Linked DNA regions of Homo sapiens: region 2 is linked to region 1. The links are contacts of gene promoters, found by promoter capture Hi-C in blood cells and fetal thymus (Javierre and others, 2016). All regions are on one chromosome and are shown on one strand. Each heading gives the region's core, a stretch centred on a gene start or on the middle of the fragment in contact. The rest is flanking DNA. Distances are from core to core; before and after follow the strand shown.

What was found. The method cuts DNA at HindIII sites, captures the fragments that hold promoters and counts their contacts. A CHiCAGO score of 5 or more calls a contact.
Region 2: a contact is called between a fragment that was not itself captured here and the fragment with the promoter of PLCH1-AS1 in region 1, in 1 of 17 cell types (M1 macrophages). The highest score is 5.7, in M1 macrophages.

Annotation. Positions count from the first base shown.
Region 1 is chr3:155,445,455-155,451,310 of GRCh38, forward strand. It overlaps PLCH1-AS1 (PLCH1 antisense RNA 1), which reads left to right and starts at 3,730. Exons shown (of 2, transcript NR_046746.1): 1 at 3,730-3,971. It also overlaps a transcript of PLCH1 not described here. The HindIII fragment of the contact is 6,189 bases long and covers 1,420-5,856 here.
Region 2 is chr3:154,362,787-154,368,608 of GRCh38, forward strand. The region is part of intron 3 of GPR149 (G protein-coupled receptor 149); the gene reads right to left. Among named protein-coding and RNA genes, the nearest start is that of DHX36, 41 kb to the left of the region's middle. RefSeq lists an enhancer at 764-933. The HindIII fragment of the contact is 3,340 bases long and covers 1-3,095 here.

The DNA.
Region 1 (5,856 bases), core at 2,480-4,979:
GATCTGTTCCAGACCCCTCTCCTTGGCTTATAGCTGATCATCTCCCTGGGTCTTTTTACATTGTTTCCCCTCTATGTGTATCTATCTGAGTCCAAATTTCCCATTTGCATAAGGACACAATCTTATTCTATTAGGGAATCTTGCATGATACCACTATACCAATGGCACCATTCATATTAGATTATGGCCCACGTTAATGACTTCATTTTAACTTGTTTACTCCTGTGAAGAAAGATGCTATCTCCAAATAAGGTCACATTCTGAGGTACTGAGGGTTAGGACAACACATATTTTTTTTGTGGGATTGGGGGGAATATGCATACAATTCAACCCCTACCTTGGCCAATTCATAAACTGTTCAGGAGCCCCTACACTAATGCATCATCTTGTTACAAAACTAAGACTCAACTAGTAATTAGAAAAAACTTTGTCTAGATGGTATGTTGCTGCTCAACCAACAACAACAAAACAACAAATGTACTCCCCACTTCCACATACACCCCACTTATTCGCTGATCTCTTCAATTATACAGTCTGTAAACATGATTTATTACCAATTTCTGTATTTGATGTGCATTCTCTGGCATCTTTTTTTTTTTTCTTTTTCTTTTATTTTTTTTATTTTGAGACAGAGTCTCGCTCTGTCACCAGGCTGGAGTGCAGTGGCGTGATCTTGGCTCACTGCAACCTCTGCCTCCAGGTTCAAGCAATTCTCCTGCCTCAGCCTCCCGAGTAGCTGGGACTACAGGTGCATGCCACAATGCCCCGCTAATTTTTGTATTTTTAGTAGAGATGGGGTTTCACCATGTTGGCCCAGATGGTCTCGATCTCTTGACCTCGTGATCCACCCACCTCAGCCTCCCAAAGTGCTGGATTATAGGCCTGGCCTGGCATCTTAAAGCTCAAGATTCAAATGGATAATTTAAAAAATGTTCTTAGTGTTTTTGTATTATATTTTTTTATATTGTGTGCAATTATGGAAATATTTTTAAAATTTGTTATCTCTAATGAATTCACAATATATGCAGAAAAAGTTGCTAGAGTGAATAAAGTTGCATAGAAAGTGACTTGTCCACTTGCCAACATTTTTCTGTTTTGCATTGCCTGGGCAGTTACCAACTTGCTTTTGTATTCAAGCAAGACGAAGAAATTACCATTCATGCATTTACCCATTTTTGCTCAGGGCTCAAACAGGGTACCACATTAGTAACTTTTAAAGAAATGATTAGCGAAAGTTGAAAATTTTCACCTACTATAGAAGCTGTCCTTTGTATCAGACAAATCAAACCAAACAAGATTTAAGGCTTTTAGAAAGAGTATTGGTTTCATATATATTTGAAATTTCAGAATCACATCTGCCTCTCAGGCCCAGAGTCTATTTAAGAAACTACAATCACTTTTTTTGTTTTCAGTTTTCAAAGCTTGATACAACCTAAATACTGTTTTTTTATCCAAAATCCAGTCTTAGGAAGGTACTATCTTTTTATAAAGGTCTAAATACTCTTTTATTTTCATATATAAACATGAAGATAATTCTGGAGATTTCCCTAAATAAAACCCAATGTGAACAATCAATGCTGAGAGGCAACCTGAGCTTTTCTTCTCTCATTGTTCCTTTTTATTTTGCAGAAAACTCTGAAGCATTTAGTCACCTAACCTATTGAAGAAGGGTGAGCTCACCTGGGCCTTGAGTACCTGAATCAAGTCAACTTTAGAAGATGAAACTGGGGGGAAAGGGGAGATACCCAAGAGAATGTGTCATACTCAGTAATAAGTAAGGTAGCTTGTTAATATCCACTATCAGTTTTGGGTATAGGTGACTAATATCCTTCTACACTGCCATTATTGAACTTAATGTCTACTTTCAGAAATGTATCCTAGGTGATCTCCCAGCCTATTCCTCCACTCTGAATATTTCAGTCTCAATATACAAAAGGGTTTGATCCCTTTGAACATGCAGCAGGCATAGACGTGTCTGGAACATGAGGTACAAATCTGAGAAACTAACAGTCCAGCTTACCTGATTCCTAAAGAACAACCCCCATTTCTATCCCCACATCTCTATGTCTGGGTTCCCCAACCCCAGCTTCCATCTTGCCTGTTTTTCCTGGGTTAACCTAATGGACACAATTATTAGCATCTCCATAGTCTGAAATTTGTAAATTAATGTGCATCAGTATCTGCTCTGGAAAGCTGTGGATGATGCATCAGTATTTAGCAGTTACATCAAGCAATTTAGTCACCTAGATTTGTGATTTGGTTGGTGGCCTTTCAGATGGGATGTCTGGCAGTAGGAAGATACCTCCTCCTGGATCATGGCTCAGCTGGCTCTGAGTTCCCACTTTAATTTCTGGCTTAGTGGAAGCTAGGAAGTGATTCAGTGGAAGTGAAATTGAATCTCAAAGCATTTCCTAAATAAGCAGGTGTCCTTTTTTGGTTGAGGCAGACTCTGGCTCCCTAAGGCAGACAGAGGGGATACAAAGTATATTCCTACTGTTTTCAGGCTGTCTTTGTTTCCGGAGTAAAAGATGGAATAGAATTTTTTTTCCTCAGTCTAGCACCACTTAGTAAATTTCTTTCCAGTTTATTATAATTATTTTTAAGTTTTAGCTTTTGATAGCATTGCAAGTCTTTTTTTCCTTTTGCTGTCACAAGCAATTTAACTGAGAGCTGTTAGACCACTGTCATTTGAAACAGGCATCTCTGCTACCATCTACCATCTGTTTAACTGTTATTAAAGTCTCAGATAATGTGTATGATTCTAAAATACACAGTAGTAAGTTATTTTGTGTTCATTTATCTGCCTAGAGTCTGAGAAGTTGATTCTTTGAAAAATAAGCCAAGTTGTAGTTTATCTTTCAGGAGGGAAAATTTTCTTGGTCAATCTCCAGCCTTCTACTTATTTGTAGTCTACCGTTTTGATTATGAGTTCTGGAAAACTCTGTATAACAGAAACTTCTCTTAAATTGTTATGAATTGTTACATAAGAGCCACGATTTCTCATCTGATCCTTCAAATAGATGTTCCCAGGAAGTTGCTTGATATTGGATTTCAAGAAATACTCTATTTCCTCAGGAATTGGTATGTTGTGATTAAATACAACTCTGCCGTCGGTGATTGTGATTCAGACTCCCACATGGTGGGGATTCAGTGAGTTGTGTTTCAACAGCATAGTGATTTGGGGCACATGTTTTATAATCCTATACATGGACAGTGAGAATATTGTTGCTGTGTGTGGCAGACACGTGGTATTGATTGCTGATTCTGAACACAGCAGCCATTCTCCTACCCCTTTTTCTAAGCTGACAGAACCTGACTTTCATGAGTGAGGCTGCAAATGTCAGATGCCCCCTTGCAGCTAGAGGTAGGCATATGACCCAGTTCTGACTAGTGAAGCATAATTGGAAGTCTATTGAGAGGCTCTTAGGAAAGATTCTCTTCCTTGATAAAGAGTCAGGGTGGGAGAAGAGAAGCTCCACAGCACCTGATTAGAAAAAAGAGGCAGAGAGACCCCAACCCTCTCTTCCTGCCTATGAATATTGATGTGAGAAGAAGTGGTATTTGGAGCTACTGGAGTCATTATGTGACAAAAAGATGTCCTTAGCAAGTAAGGGATGGCACTCAAGCCACTGAAACACCCCTGGACTTATCTCCCTCCAAACCTTGCAGTAGTTATTCCCTGTAGTTACCGATATCCTGTTCTTCTCTACTCCTGGACACACAGGGACACAGCATTTCTCCACCAAAGCATGGCTCCATGACTCGGTAGATGAAATGAAATGTTGCCAGAAGCGTCGTGTGCTATCTCGTGTTTGACTCTCTACCTGCTCTTCCCCTGCAGTAGTAATCGTGGGAGCATGTATATTTACGGAGGTGTCATAAGATCAAACAGCCTGGAAGGAAGAGCCAATGCCTGAAAAACAGCTGCTGTGACGAGCTGCCTGAACCCTCAGCCAACTTTGTTACTTTGTGTGAGTAAGAAATTAACTTCTGTTGTGTTAAGCCACTGGTGGGGGTTGTTTGTTACCATAGCATAAAGTAGTTTATCATGCCTGATACAATCTGTATTCTTTTAAGCCATTTATAATTGGTAGGCTCCTCCATGTAGCTGAAAACATCCTAATTCATACTATACACAGCATTTGACATGAAAACAACTTTCCTGTAAAATGAGACATTTGCCTTCATGGCAAAATAAATATCGACTACTTTTGCTTGCCAAGATGCCAATCTCTTTCTAGAAACAGCATCCCAATCTTACTTAAGGAAACCACTGCAGCAGACATGGCCATGCTCTGCCCATGTCTTCTCAGCACTTGCTTCTACTCACAGAAGATTGCTGTCACTGCAAACTCCTGTGTCTCTGCTTGAGAACTTTCGTCTGGTTGCAATAGAACACTCATCTCACACACAGGACAAGCCAAAAGTGCCCAGGAGTTAATGCCCAGAAGCCCCCAGCAAATTGTGTAAATAATAGATAATGTTGAAAAATATCCTAGCTTCCTCACTTCTGGGTTGAGATAACTCTGATGTGTGTTCTAGATTGTCTCCCTGTGGAATAAAGCTCCAATTGCTCATTGTGGGAACTGCTTTGATAACACATCCTTTATTGGCTTCTCTTCCTTCCCTGCCTCTCTTCTCCACTCCCCTACTGAGGTTTTCTAGGATCATATCCAAAATAAACCACTTGTTCTTGAAACCTTGTTTCAGAGTCTGCTCTGGGGGAACCCAAACCAAGACGTCATTCTCTCCAAGGGGAACCAATCTTTTTGGGACTGGCAGTTAAGTTAGATTACTTGCTCTGTCTTTAATATTTGGATCTTGAACAGAATCCCACAAAGACTATCTTTAGGGAGATAGACGCTTTTCAAAGGGTCTGCTTGTTAGTTCCTTCTTTATGGATTCCTGCAGTTCTTTTTGATACTTCTTTTCTGAGCCAGATTTTTGGTTTCTCTTCCATTCTATTAGTTACCTTATATCCCTTCAATACATTCCTTTTGGGATGAAATAGCTAGAATTTCTTCCTGTGGCTTGCAGTAAAAGAAAACAATGAATTTAAACAACACATTAAACCTCTTTCAGATATAAAGACTGATATAAATGAATGAGTTATAAAATGTATAAGAGCACTAAATGCTATATTTTAATTATTCACGAAATCAAATCCATAGGAGTCACTTTAAAATGTCAATGTTTTCATGTTTCTTTATATTTCATTTGAAATAGTGTCTCTAGCCAGTGAAAATGTCTTTACAGCATTTCAATACAATGCCCATGAACAATTATTGATCTGGAAGGGTAAAATAACTTGGTAGTGGTGGGACGGGTCATTGTGGTTGTTGTTGTTTTATTTTGTTTTGTTTTTATCTGGGGTGGTTACTAAGTTTCCATTATCTAGTGTAGTACTTTTAATTAAACATTTTTAAGATAAAAAAACTTTTTAAGGCATTTCTATGCGAAGAAACCTGGATTGCTATAATAATAGAGAAAATTTGTTTATTTATACAAACCTTACATACCTAACCATGAGGATTCATACAGCAAAGCTGTTTAAATATGATTTAAAGAAGATCCCCTAATGCCCAAATCTATGACAAGTTGAGTAACAAAATTAATAATGAGAATAATGGACTATAACCCCCAAAATAAAAAATATATATTGATGAGTCCATACTGATACCAATCATTCAAGAAATAAATAAGAGAATTCAAATTAATAAATATAGAAGAAATAACAGAAATATAAAATCATCATTTGATAACATTACAGTAATAATTACCTCAATCAAGAATCATTAATAGGTAAGGGTGTGATGAAAAACAGGATATTTACATGGTCTCAATTATCTTGCCACG
Region 2 (5,822 bases), core at 176-2,675, 1.1 Mb before region 1:
ATTCATGATTTGCATACTTTTTCTTACAGTTGTTTTTCCCAAACAAACACTATTCAAGTCCTATATAACCTGGATCCATCCATGTGTCAATGATCAATATTAAGGATTCAGTGCAGAAATATCAGGGCTATTTAGAGGTATTCCATTGGAAAATGATTACACATGAGATCACTTGAAAATGCACATTAGCAGATAATCTTTGAAGACTCCTCTAAGAAGAATCTGGGTAGAGGGTGCAAAGGTCTTGTAGAAAGAAAGAGCATGGCATATTCAAGGAAATAAAATTAATAGGTTAGAAACTGAAGCAAATAGTTCAAGGGGAGGTTGAGGGGAGATGAAACCACAGGAACCAATCACTGAAGCCACATTAAGGAGTTTTAACCTTGTCCTTAAGGCGAAAGGAACTACCAAAGTGTTCTAAGCATAAAATTGACAGGAGAAAAATTATATTTTTGCAAATTTATTCCGGGCTGTGATGTGTAGATCAGAGGGTTGTCTCAGTACACTTTTGCTGCTATAACAAAATACTACAAACTGAATAATTTACAAATTATTCAGTCTTGAATAATTGGCCTCCTGGTTCTGGAGGCTAGGAAGTTCAAGATCAAGGTTCCAGCATTAGTGTTTGGTGAGGGGTGCTCTCTGCTTCTAAGATGCTGTCCCATTGCTGCAGCCTCCAGAGGGACAAACACTGTGTCCTCTCATAGCAAAAATGACAGGGAAGAGGGTGCTCTCTTCAACCTTGAGCCCATTTATAAGGATGTTAATCCTGATAGTGACAGGAAACAGACAAATTCCTTAGGCAGACAGGGACAAGTCCCCAGTGAAATCCAACCTTCAAGCCAAGGGCAGTCTAAAACCTGAAAACCAAGCTGCCACTTCTGGATAGAGTCCATGACAGGAGTGAGAACTTCCATCCCTGTCTTGCCCAGTCTCTCTTGGTTGGTTCCTTCTGAATGATGCCTTTTCAATCCAAAGGTGCTTTTTCCAAGACCAGCCATGGACAAATCAGCGTGCATTCCCCTATTTTAAGCCCATAAAAACCCCAGATGACAACCCACTTTTGGGTCCCCCTCCCACTGACAGCTTTCTTTCTGTGGCTCAATAAAATTCTACTCTGCCTTACTCACTCTCCAGTGTTCATGTACCTTATTCCTCTTGGTTGTGGGACAAGAACCTGGAACTCACTGAAATGCAGGAGTGGAAGCTGTGCTGAGCTGTGGGCAGCAGGAATAAAAGAGCTGTAACTCTCTCTCCCTCTCATGGAACAATGGGAGAGAAGAAGCGAAGCTGCTGGGCACCACTCCCTCCTACTAACCAAGGTATGGGAGTGAAGAAGTGAAGCCACTGGGTGCCACTCCCTCCTGCTTGCTGAACTATGGGAGTAAAAAAGCTGCAACAATCCCATTCATGAGGGCAGAACCCACAGGTCTAATCACCTTTCAAAAGTCATACTTCTTAATACTACTGCATTGGGCATTAAGTTACAACATGAGTTTTGGAGAAGACATCATGATTTAAACCATAGCATTCCACTCTTGGATCCTCAAAATTCATGTTTTTCTCACATACGAAATACATCATTCCATTCCAGTAGACCCCAAAAGTCTTAACTTGTTTCAGAATCAACTTTAAAGTCTAAGTCCAAAGTCTTATCTAAATATCATCTAAATCAGATGTGAGTGAGACTCAAGGTATAAATCATCTCAGGCAAATTACTCTCTAGCTATGAGCCTGTGAAATCAAACAAATTATCTACTTTCAAAATACAATGGTGAGATAGGCATGACACAGACATTTTCATCTCAAAAGGGAGAAATAGGCAAGAAGAAAGAAGTAATACGTTTCAAGTAAGTCCAAAACCTAAAAGGGAAAACAACGTTGAATATCAAGTCTTGAGAATAATCTTCTTCAGCTCTATCTCCTGTCTTACGGACTTACTGAGACTGAAGTTGGGCTCCAAAGGCCCTGGGGGATCCCACCCCCATGGCTTTGCTGGATGCTGCTCATGCAGCAGTTCTCATGAGTTGGAGTCATGTGCCTGCAAGCTGGGATTGCACTCTGGCAGTTCTAGAGTTCTGGAGTTTCAGGGCAGCCTTACTCCCACAGCTTCATGAGACATTGACTAAGTAGAGACTCTGTGGTGGCCCCACCTTCACAGACCTGCTAGGCATTGCCCTGGTGGGGACTTTTTGCAGTGGCCCCACCCCATGACTCTGCTAGGCATTGCTCTACTGGAGACTCTCTGCAGCCACCCTGCTCCTGTGGCATTTCTTTGCCTGGCCACCTGAGACTCTCTGAGTCATCCTTTGAAATCTAGGTGGAGGTAGCAATACCTCCACAGCTTGTGTACTTTGCATGCTTGCAATCTTAGCACCACTTCAATGATGAATGTTGATACCTTTTAACCCCACAGCTGGGAGCAGTTCACCAGAGTATGGGGGAGGAGAGACTTGAGGTGACCCTGGGCAGCAAACCCCAAGGTTCCACAGGTGCCCTGGGCCCCTCCTTTGAAACTTCTGCCTTCAAGTCTCTGGTATTCTTGGCCTGTGATGGGAGTGGCAGTCTCAAAGATCTCCAAAATGCCTTCAGAGTTATTCTTCCATTGTTTTGATCAATAGCATCTGGCTTCCCTCTATTCATACTAATTTCCTTATCAATGAGTAGCTTGGCCACATCCTCAGTTTTCCCTCCTTAACCATACTTTTGTTCTTTATATAACCAAGCTGAAATTTTTTCAAATCTTTACCTTCTGCTCTACTTTTGACCGTAAATTCAATCTCGAGCATTTTTTCTCTTCTCACACTTTACTATAAGCGGTTAAGAAAAGCCATGCACCACCCTGAACACTTTGCCTAGAGATTTCTTCCACCAAATGTCTTAGTTCATGGCCCTTAAATTTTGCCTTCCACAAAGGATTAGGACATGAACATAATTCAGGCAGTTCTTTGCCACTTTGTAACAAAGATGACCTTTCCTCCAGTTTCCAATAAGATATGCCTTATTTCCATCTAAGATGTCTTCAAAATGCTCTTTTCTATCCATATTTCTACCCACAGTCTGTTCATGACCACTTAGATAATATCTAACACTGAAGCTTTTATACTGCTTTTCTCTTCTGAGACCTCACCAGAATTGCCCTTAATGCTCCATTCACAGCAATCTAGGCTTTTTCTAGCACGCACTTTAAAACTGGTCAAGCCTCTACCCATTATCTATTTCCAAAGCTGTTTCCATATTTTCAGGTATTTGTTATAACAATACCTTACTTATGGTACCAATCTGTAAGCCAAAAATAAAATCCTAGGCCCTCAACCAAATGACTGGACCCTCTTTGGGCCAAACAGACCCCTAGAGAAACCTGAAAAACTGAATTCTCAGCCATGACAAAAAGGGAGGTCAGACACTCCTTGTTATACTCTCTTCCTGTTGGAGTTTAGGCACAACTGACCAGCACTGACATTAAAATAGAGATCATAAGACTGATCTCCTTGAGGCAATAAGATATCATATTAGAACCTACTCTGGTACAGCATTACATGACAGATAGCAGACCCTGAAGGAAATCAAAATACTTTACTCCAAAATACATTTCTGTGACATAATTTAAAATGGCCCTGCAAAGCTGCCTTTGGTGGGGGAAATTTGCATCTGTAGACAATCTCCATTAATGCAGCCAGGACTTTCCCTGATTTAGGAAAGATTAACTAAGAGTCTAACACCTTTTAAGGTCCAAAAAGAGACATTTACATCTATTCTCTGTGATGGCTGTTACCTATAAAGCTTCATCTGTCTTTGGTCTCCACAACTCCCCTTATGTTAACTCAAGAATGTCTTTCTACAGACTTTAAGTCTTTAGGTAAAGCTTAACTCCTTTCAACCAATTGCCAGTCAGAACATCTTTGAATCTACCTATGACCTATAAGCCCTGGCATTGAGATGTCCTGTCTTTCTGGGCCAAATCAAGGTATACCTTACATGTATTGATTTATATCTTTGTCTGTGGCTTCTGTCTCTCTAAAATCTGTAAAACCAAACAGTAACTTCACCACCTTGGGCACACTTTCTCAGGATTTCTTGAAACTGTTCCCCAGGACATGGTCACTCATATTGGCTCAGAATAAACCTCTTTAAATATTTTGCAGAGTTTGGTTTTATTGTCAACAAATTTCCATCTTAGTTCATTTGTGCTGCTTTAATAAAATACCTGAGACTGGATAAAGAACAGAAATGTATTGCTCACTGTTCTGGAGGCTGGAAAGTTCAAGATCAAGGCTCTGGCAGGATTGGTGTCTGGTGGAGACTACACGCTGCTTCTGAGAGGAGGTTCCAGCTGAGCTTCCTGGGTCAAGTAGGGGCTCAGAAAGCTGTGAAACTCACTCCTTTCCTGCATCAGGACTTATTTTGGTCTTGGATGAATAATATTGAAGATATATGCTGAAAATATTCCTAACATCAGAATTTGTGCCTCTGTTTTCTTCCCCAAGAAAGCTATAAACAGTGAAAATTTTGTTGTAAGCTTCCCTGTGTCCTCTCTCCCTCTCTCCCTTCCCCCCCCCGAAACTAAAAGGAATGTTAAAAGCCAGTTTTTCTGTGATCAGCAGACCTTATCTATGCTTCCAATTCCAATTCCTTGTAAACACAGTTTGTTAAGTCCTGTGAGATCCTGTCTCCTTTGCCATGCCACTGCAAGGTCATAAAGTAGATAAACTTAAGTTACAATTCCGGTTCTCCTCAAGATCTGAGACATGTTAATTGTCTTTGTTTCTTGCTCTGGTAACATCTTCCCACTGCACGTATTTCCCTCCTTAAAGAGTTTAAAATGTAATTGAAAAATCTAACACTGGCTACCCACTTGGGACACCTTCCATGCTGTGGAAGCTTTGTACTGTCACTCTGCTCAATAAAACTTACAGCTTTTTTTCTCTTGGTCTGATCCATGTCTCTCTCTCACCATGGGCGGCCGCCCCACCAAATCTTTGGCATGGCTAAGGCAAGAACCTTTGGAGTTACATTTTGGCGAGCCAGCCAGGAGGATCTCCAGGAAAGGCATCTCGATCCTCACATGGTGAGTACGATTAGACCTCTTTCGCTTGCTATTCTGTCCTGTCTTTCCTTAGAATTCAGAGGCTAAACTGGGCACCTGTCAGCCACTTAAAGGCGATTAGCGCGGCCGCCGGACTAAAGACACGGGTGTCAGGCTGTCTGGAAAAGGGCTGTCTAACAACCCCCGACCCTCCAGGGCTGGGAACGTTGGTTAGTTTGGACCCAGTTCCTACTCTTTCACTTTCTGTGGTGGTCCCGAAGTACACCCGGGAGTTATCAGTAGACATTCTAGTCTTCCAGATTTCCTGGTTGAGACCATGGCCCCGCCAGAGGCTCCCCCTGCAAGGGTTACTGAGCGTGAGACCACCACATCTTCTGACCCCTGTCTCCTGGGTCCCAATGTCCACTGGCTAGACTTCTTTTCTCATCTTGCAAGCAAGGTTATTCCCACTAGGCAGGATCAAGATTCCCTATTTAGAAGTCTTAAATTTTTGGGGTAGTGCCCAGAGGATCCCTCTTCATGGTACCTTCCAGGGTTTAGGCAGGTATCATCGTTTGATGGCTATTTTAAAGGGCCAGTTCCCCACCATAGGGTATGGTCCCCTACATCAGGACAATTTAAAGACAGGCCTGTAATTTTCATGTGAATAGTAAAAACCTTAAGGCATTTCCTCCATTGCTTCCCACATAGGTTTTCCCCTTCCTTAGGGCCTCTCAAGTACAATCTGTGGTGCATGGGTACAGCTCTTAGAGCCGTTGAATTGCTATTTCAACCA